2 separate regions of the Homo sapiens genome follow, and region 1 is linked to region 2. Evidence: promoter capture Hi-C in human tissues and cell types (Jung and others, 2019). All regions are on one chromosome and are shown on one strand. Each heading gives the region's core, a stretch centred on a gene start or on the middle of the fragment in contact. The rest is flanking DNA. Distances are from core to core; before and after follow the strand shown.

Region 1 (3,415 bases), core at 224-2,723, 450 kb after region 2:
ATAGGCCTAGTCTCTTCAATTCCTTATATTGATTAGGAAGTGATAAAAAGGGACTATTACAACTTTGATGTTGATATTTTAAAAATCATAATTTAAAGAACACCTTTGAAAAGATTAAAGCTAATTATTAATAGAATGCATTACTGCCAAAACAACAGAGGGCACTAAAATATTCCATATAGCAAAAGGTAGAAAATAAAGGGAAAAGCAGTAAAACAAAAAATTGATGACATAAAATGAATAAAATAAGTAGAAAAATTAAGAAATAATTAATTGATTATATCAGTAAAAACAGTTAAACTTTTTAAGACAAAGATTGGGTCAATAATAAAATCCAATGTTACGCCAATTATAAAATGCATCTAAAAGTATATGCACGCACACACACATAGAAAAGTGAAAATGAAAGAACAGGCAACAATGTATCAGGCAAATGTAAAGAAAGGTTGCAGTGGTCCTATCATTAACATCAAAACAAAATTCAAAGCAATAAAGATGAAAAAATATATAATTAAGAAACATAAATTACTACTAAGGCTTTTTTTGTTTGTTTGTTTTGTTTTCTTTTTGAGACAGAGTCTCACTCTTGTCGCCCAGGCTGGAGTGCAGTGGCATGACCTCAGCTCACTGCAACCTCCGGCTCCCAGGCTCAAGTGATCCTCCAACTGCAGCCTCCCAGATAGCTGGGACTACAGGTATATGCCACCATGCCCAGCTATTTTTTTTTTTTTTTGTACAGACAGGGTTTCACCATGTTGCCCAAGCTGATCTTGAATTCCTAAGCTCAAGCCATTTGCCCACCTGAGCCTCCCAAAGAACTGGAATTACAGGTGTGAGCCACTATGCCTGGTCACTAATGAGTTTTGGTGAGTTAAGTAATACTGTATTGTTAGAAATAAAGTAAAAAACTTCCTTCCCCAGTAGAATGGTCGATTATCTACACGACCCTTCCACAAAAATACACCTGGGTGCTGCATAACATTAAATCAAGTTTAGTCTAAAGCTGCCTCCTTACATATTTTAAGTTTGACCTAAAGGTATCTCTGTACATCGTGAAATACAACAAGTAGAGGTGTAAACACACCATAGCCTACACGTGACAATTACTGAGTTTTGGACAATCAAATGTAGACAACTGTTCGAATGGCTTCAAAAAAGGCAAACATTGAGCAGTAATTGATAGATGCAGGAGGCAGAAAAGGGAACCTGCACAGGGTTTTGCCTGGGCATGCCTGCAACAGACTGGGGGTCTGCATGAGCACTGGGAGAATGGGGTAAAGCCACCAGGAATTCATGCCTTATGCAGGGGGAGGAGTCAGGCCTCTTCAGCTCATGTGTGGTGGCCTGGTATTCAATCTGTGATGTGGGTGCATGTTGGCAGGACCCCCTCTTTCTTTTCTGAGAGCATTCTTTTTGCCTAATAAATCTGTCCTCCTCACCCTTCCATGTGTCTGTATGCCTAATTTTTCTTGGTTGTGAGACAAGAACCCAGATTTTTAGCTGAAGGAGCAAAAAATCTTGCATCATTTTGGTGGTCCATACGGGCATATGAGGAGGGGTGAGTAAAATGTGGACCAAAAAATCTCTTTTCCTTTTGTTTCTGAGCCTTCTTGTCCTTGGACTTCTTCTGAGGGTAGAGGAAACTGTGGTCCCTTCTTCGCTCTCGGGGTTTGGGAATGTCAGCCTTGGTCCAAACCAGCCTTTTCTATGGCATTTTCCTTCTTTTTTTTGGGACCGTAATGGCACCTATCTTTTCTTTTACTATAGCAGTCATCCACCTCCACCCCAATGGCTGTAGGTGCACATATGGCCATAGCTGCTGCCCTGGCCCCAGGGCAGTCTCAGGGGCCAGAGGCCCTGCACGTCCAGCTGAGCAGCATACCTCGCGACACCTCCATGGAGTCCCCTCATTCCCTGGCCGAGGGGTCTAGCTCAGTCCGACAGCAATTGAAAGCTTCTTTCCTGCTGGGCGCGGTGGCTCATGCCTGTAATCCCAGCACTTTGGGAGGCCAAGGCAGGCGGATCACGAGGTCAGGAGATCAAGACCATCTTGGCTAACATGGTGAAACCCCGTCTCTACTAAAAATACAAAAAATTAGCTGGGCGTGGTGGTGGGCGCCTGTACTCCCAGCTACTCGGGAGGCTGAGGCAGGAGAATGGCGTGAACCAGGGAGGCGGAGCTTGCAATGAGCCGAGATGGCGCCACTGCGCTCCAGCCTGGGAGACAGAGTGAGACTCCGTCTCAAACAAAACAAACAAAAACAAAACAAAACAAAACAAAACAAAACAAAACAAAAAAGGTTCTCTCCCTGTTCGTCACTGCACTCCAGCCTGGGTGACAGAAAGAGACTCCATCTCATAAAAGAAAAAGTTTCTCTCCTGTTGGAGAAATCCATTTGCATAAGAATAAGAGGTTTCTTGCTCAGGCACCTTTTTCTTTCCTCCACCCTGTCAGCAGTGAATACAGCTTTGCATTTAAGTTTTTTTTGTTTTTCTCCATCCTGTCTCAGTTAAGACAGCCCTGCCTTTAAGTTTTTTTTTTTTTCTTTTCTCCACCAGGTCAGGAGTTAAGTTTTATGCAAGAGGCTTTTTTTTCTCCCCCTTTTAGAGGACATTTTACTAGGCCAGGACACCCTTTTCTCTCCCTTGTTGGAGGACTCAATTCCACAGCTTCTCCTTAGCATTTGGCTTATGATAAGGAGTCCATGCAACCCCCGAGACACATTTTTGTCCCAAACTCAATTCCAAGTTTTGGAGCTCGAAGGCTACTAACAGCAGGGGAGACAGGGTGTACGTGGGTAACAGCAGATAATCCCACTCCCTAGGCACCCATGTTTACATGGGTGAAAGCCACTTTGACGCCCATGGTGGCACCCTGTCACAGTTGCTGGGCCTCAGGGATACTCAGACGAAAGAAAGAGGGATGCCTCACTTTCTCTCCCTCACATATCCACGGTATTCACTAGGAAGAAAATGGAACCAGGAACGCCTCGCTCCCCTCTTTCTAGATGAGTAGCCATTCATCTTCATTGTGAACCTCTTTTGAATGCACCCTGAGTCCTGGGGCTCCTTTGAAAAAAATGTCTTCTTTTTCCTTTTTCCTCCTCTGTCCTTTCTTCACAGATGAGTAATTGGGTCCCCCTACAGGACAGTCCTCTTGGATGTATGCTCCAAACTGGGAGAAGTTAATTTCCCAAACCTTAAACTGGTTGGCTTGGGACTGAGCTTGGAGGAAGGGAACCCCGGAGCCTGACATGCAGGCAAAAGAGTAAACTTTTTTCTTACCAGTTGGGCTTTTGGCCTCCCTCTCCTGGTGCAAACCGGTAAAGGGAATGGTAAGGATCACTGTTTATATTTTCTGTAAAGTTTTAATTATGAAAAAGGATTTGTGAGGCTGGTCTTAAGCTATAGCCAA
Region 2 (3,767 bases), core at 1,012-3,511:
TGAAAGCTGTTCTTAACATGCCTCTTCATACTAGACAAAGGAACCTACAACAAATCGACCACTTTATTCAAAGTGGCCAAGTGATCTATTAAGGTGAGAAAGATAGGGGCCCATAGTATGAGACAAGATTACTAAAGAAAGCAAGTGTCTGGTTTTCTTCACTTGACCCATATTATTCCAAAATATTTATTTTAAATAAAAATCATCTAATTACAGGCCAAATGGAAAATGCCACATAAATCCACGCAAAATAAAACAATCTGACTGTAAGCCAGTATAGTAGTAAAATATATCATATAACCCAGATATCAATGTTAACCAACAATCAACTCTTGGTGCTATGAATATGCATTTTCAGTAGCTTGAATTAGAGAAATTAGAGGTGAACAAGCTCCAAAGTCTCTAAACATGCCGATACAGAGCAACAGTCATGATAATTAAAATTAAGTCATGAATCCAGTGAACTGCAAAGAACTTGGCAGCAATTAGGTGCCAAGGTAGTCAATCAGGACAATGAGTCAAACCAAAAGTAATCAAGCCTTTATTCACTTACTGTGACAGTGCAAGCAAGTGGTAAAAAGAGGCACTGGCTCCCCAGTGGTCTACTAAATACAAGGACACTGGGTGAGGGTCAGTTGATGCAGTGCATATGAGGTAATCCTCTCACTGAAAGGAGCCCCTAACAAAAATCTCCTGCCTCTTATGGAACTTCAGAATAGGAAAGGGAGGGGAAGGTCTAGGAGTGAAAGAAGCTGGGTCAAAAATGGAGAAAAGTGTCTTAGCCACGGTCCTTCCTAGGAGGGCCTCCAAATGGAGGTACCCAGGCTAGGAAAGAAGTTATGGGATTTGCATATCTAGCAGGAGGGGCAGGGCAAGTCCTTGACTGCAACCCCCTCCAGAAAACTGCAATGCACCGGCCCATATCGAGTATGGTGTGGGAGGACAGCTTGGCCCTTGAGGCCAGTCAGGCAAAGCCTGGTAATTGTCCAATGTCAGGACTGAATGATCACACAGGATTTTGGTATAAAGCCAGATTCAATTCCTTTTGTATGTTTCTTCTTCCCTTTAATAAATGCTTTCGTGGAACACGCCTAAAAGAAAAAAATCACACACCACAACTACCTCTGATTAAAACAGGGATTGGCTACCTACAGCTCCTGTACCAAAAAGGAGCTACGGTTAATCATCCATTGTTAGCACTAAGATTGGATAACTGTTGTCACTTGCCTCCCACCACGTGGAAAAGCACTTACTGGGAGCCCTAGATTGTTAGAACCATTAGTGGCAAGTGGTGATCCTATCTCCTGTTTATGAGAGTCAGGTTAGGGATCCTCACCTCACGCACTCATGGAGCTCCAAATCCCATTTCAACCGATTTTTGTTGATAACATAAAAATAAAAAAGACTGTAATTTTTCTTATCTTAAACTGAAATAAAAGAATAGTAGATCTGCTCAGTGGTTCAATCCAGAATTTATCCTGACAAGAACAAGATACTCTACGTGAAGACTGTAAAAACTGTAAAAACTGACCTCAATAATATCCAATGTTGCCTCAAGGCTGAAAGCCTGTTGATTTTCTTGTCTTGACTAGTACCATTAAAACGATGTGAGGATTTCACGAAAGTAAGCGAACAAGAAATGAAAGACCTAAGAGAAACACACACAACTTTCAGTTGGGGAATAATCTCCGGCGGCTGCTTCTGCCCCACTCGCCCCGGGCCCATTCTCTTGGCCTTGAACCCTCACCTCTCCCTCCCAGTGGACTACACTGGACAAAGGACACTGACACACAGTCCTCGTTCTAAAGGCCCACAACCAATAATAAGCACGTAATGGTCGAGCCGAGTCCAGAAACCACAAAATCCCACGCCAGGAAAGGAAGGGTAAGGGTAAAAACTGCTTTGGCTGCAGCCAGGATGAAAACGCCACATGTGATACAACCCACAGCAACAACAAAAAAAAATCCCTCTACGCCTTCCTCTCAAATTTCTGCTCCGCGTGAGACGCACTCAATAGGTGGGGAAGTGAGAAAGCAAAAGGAGCTCAGGAACTGAGGTTGTGGAGCCCCCGTTCTTGGGTCCCCAGGCACCTTGGCGGTATTGAGGCAGGTCCGACCCTCCCTGGGGGTCGCTCCACTTCTCAGTCGGGTTTCTGAAGTCCTCCTCACGCATCTGGAGCTGGCGAGGGCCCGGGAGGCACGCACCTCAGGCCCAGGTGCCGCGAAGGCAGCGCGCGCACGTCCGCAGGGCCGGCGCGGCAACGGGCTGAGCGCGCAGGCGCGGCGCTCTGGCGCGCCCAGGGACACAGTCCGGCTGGAAACAAGCTCCCCCCAATTTCAGGGCCGTTGTCGCCTCCGGGCGGTCCGCGGGTCCCGAGCGGACTGGGACTCTGGAGACGTGCCCCCAACCCCACCGCCATTCACCCTGTCATTGCAGGGGAGAGAACAGAATAAAGACGGGTACATTTTCCATCTCACCTCTGAACCTCGGTTAGGAAAACGCTGTAGCCCTGACTAGTGGGCTCAAGGGCCGACTGGAAAAGGGCGAGTCAGCGTTCAAAGCCGATTCGGGGCAGCCCTCTCTAACGCAGAGGGCCGAGGATAAGAAGACGACAATGTGTTAGGGGCCCTCCGGGCTAGGACTGTCCTCACCACTTTGTACATTGCCAAAGTAAATATAACGTAGAGGTCAAGCGCAGGCGCTTTGTGGGCAGACATGACTGAGCTCCACTCGCGACTCCTCTAATGGCGTGCCAGCTGCGGACCTCATTAGCCCCGCCTCAATCATTCAGTATGTTTTGGTTGTCTACAGTGTACGAAGCCCTGTTCTCACAATTAGATAAAATGAGTGTGAAGTGCTCAACATAATTCCTAGTGTAGTAGGCCTTCAAAGAACTATTATCATTATTAATTACTCATATAGAATACAACTTTATGAAATGATAGGATCCCATTTTAAGATGAGGAAAATGAGGCTATCAGAGACGTTAAGGAACTTAATGTCACACAGTTAATAAACGATAGAGGTGCGATTTGAACACAGGTTGTCTAATACCAGACCTGCATTTATAACTGCTGCTTCCCAAGTTATAGATATTTCAGCATTTTATGTAGTCACAATTGAAGACCAAATATTTAGTTACAGACTAAGTTGGCATGTTATTACTGAATAAGATGCTAAGGTATCTACTAAAGATTTTAAGTGCAAAAGGCATTAGAGAAGAATTTACTGTGGATTTTTTGCAGGTTCTGATTGTAATTGTATCACCTTGAGAAAGGAGGAAATGAAAGCAGATTATCAGGCATACTTTTTTAACTCTAAGCAACTTTTTGCATTACTTTCTAAGGACCATCAGCAACAAAAATCAATGGTTTCTAATGTTGATATATTTTCCTCTACCAAAAAAATTAAAGCAGCTGAGCCAACAAAAATTCTCTGTTTTGGATGTGTTAGCATGAGGAAATGGCGAATAGGAAATGAGCTTTTGCTTCTCATGTAGGAACCCTGAAGGAGTCAGATTTGGGAGGGGTTGAAGTCTGCTTCCAACAGAAGCAGGGGTGGAGAAGGGAAAGGAAAGACTTCTGGTGTCCTAAATGCTAGTCCCAAAGTGGGGATGCTGTTTGTCCGGATAACCCTTGTAAATCTGCTCCATTCTGCAGCTACTCCTGGGAAACTTAACTCAGCCAAATAATGCAAACAATTGCATCCATCATCAGCCACATCAGCCTTAGGAGATACATCCATATCATGAGAAAACACTACCTGAA

What was found. The method cuts DNA at HindIII sites, captures the fragments that hold promoters and counts their contacts. A contact is called where the count stands out against the background at its distance.
Region 1: a contact is called between a fragment that was not itself captured here and the fragment with the promoter of ZNF770 in region 2, in 1 of the 25 tissues and cell types used here (H1 embryonic stem cells).

The regions. Positions count from the first base shown.
Region 1 is chr15:35,434,222-35,437,636 of GRCh38, forward strand. All of the region lies in intron 5 of DPH6 (diphthamine biosynthesis 6), which reads right to left. It overlaps LOC124903464 (a long non-coding RNA gene), which reads right to left and starts at 2,029. Exons shown (of 2, transcript XR_007064580.1): 1 at 1-2,029. The HindIII fragment of the contact is 4,033 bases long and covers 1-3,415 here.
Region 2 is chr15:34,986,026-34,989,792 of GRCh38, forward strand. It overlaps ZNF770 (zinc finger protein 770), which reads right to left and starts at 2,262. Exons shown (of 3, transcript NM_014106.4): 1 at 2,091-2,262; 2 at 1,532-1,648. LOC105370764 (a long non-coding RNA gene) reads left to right here and starts at 2,333. Exons shown (of 5, transcript NR_188212.1): 1 at 2,333-2,459; 2 at 3,660-3,767. RefSeq lists enhancers at 761-820, 901-950, 2,357-2,446. The HindIII fragment of the contact is 19,041 bases long and covers 1-3,767 here.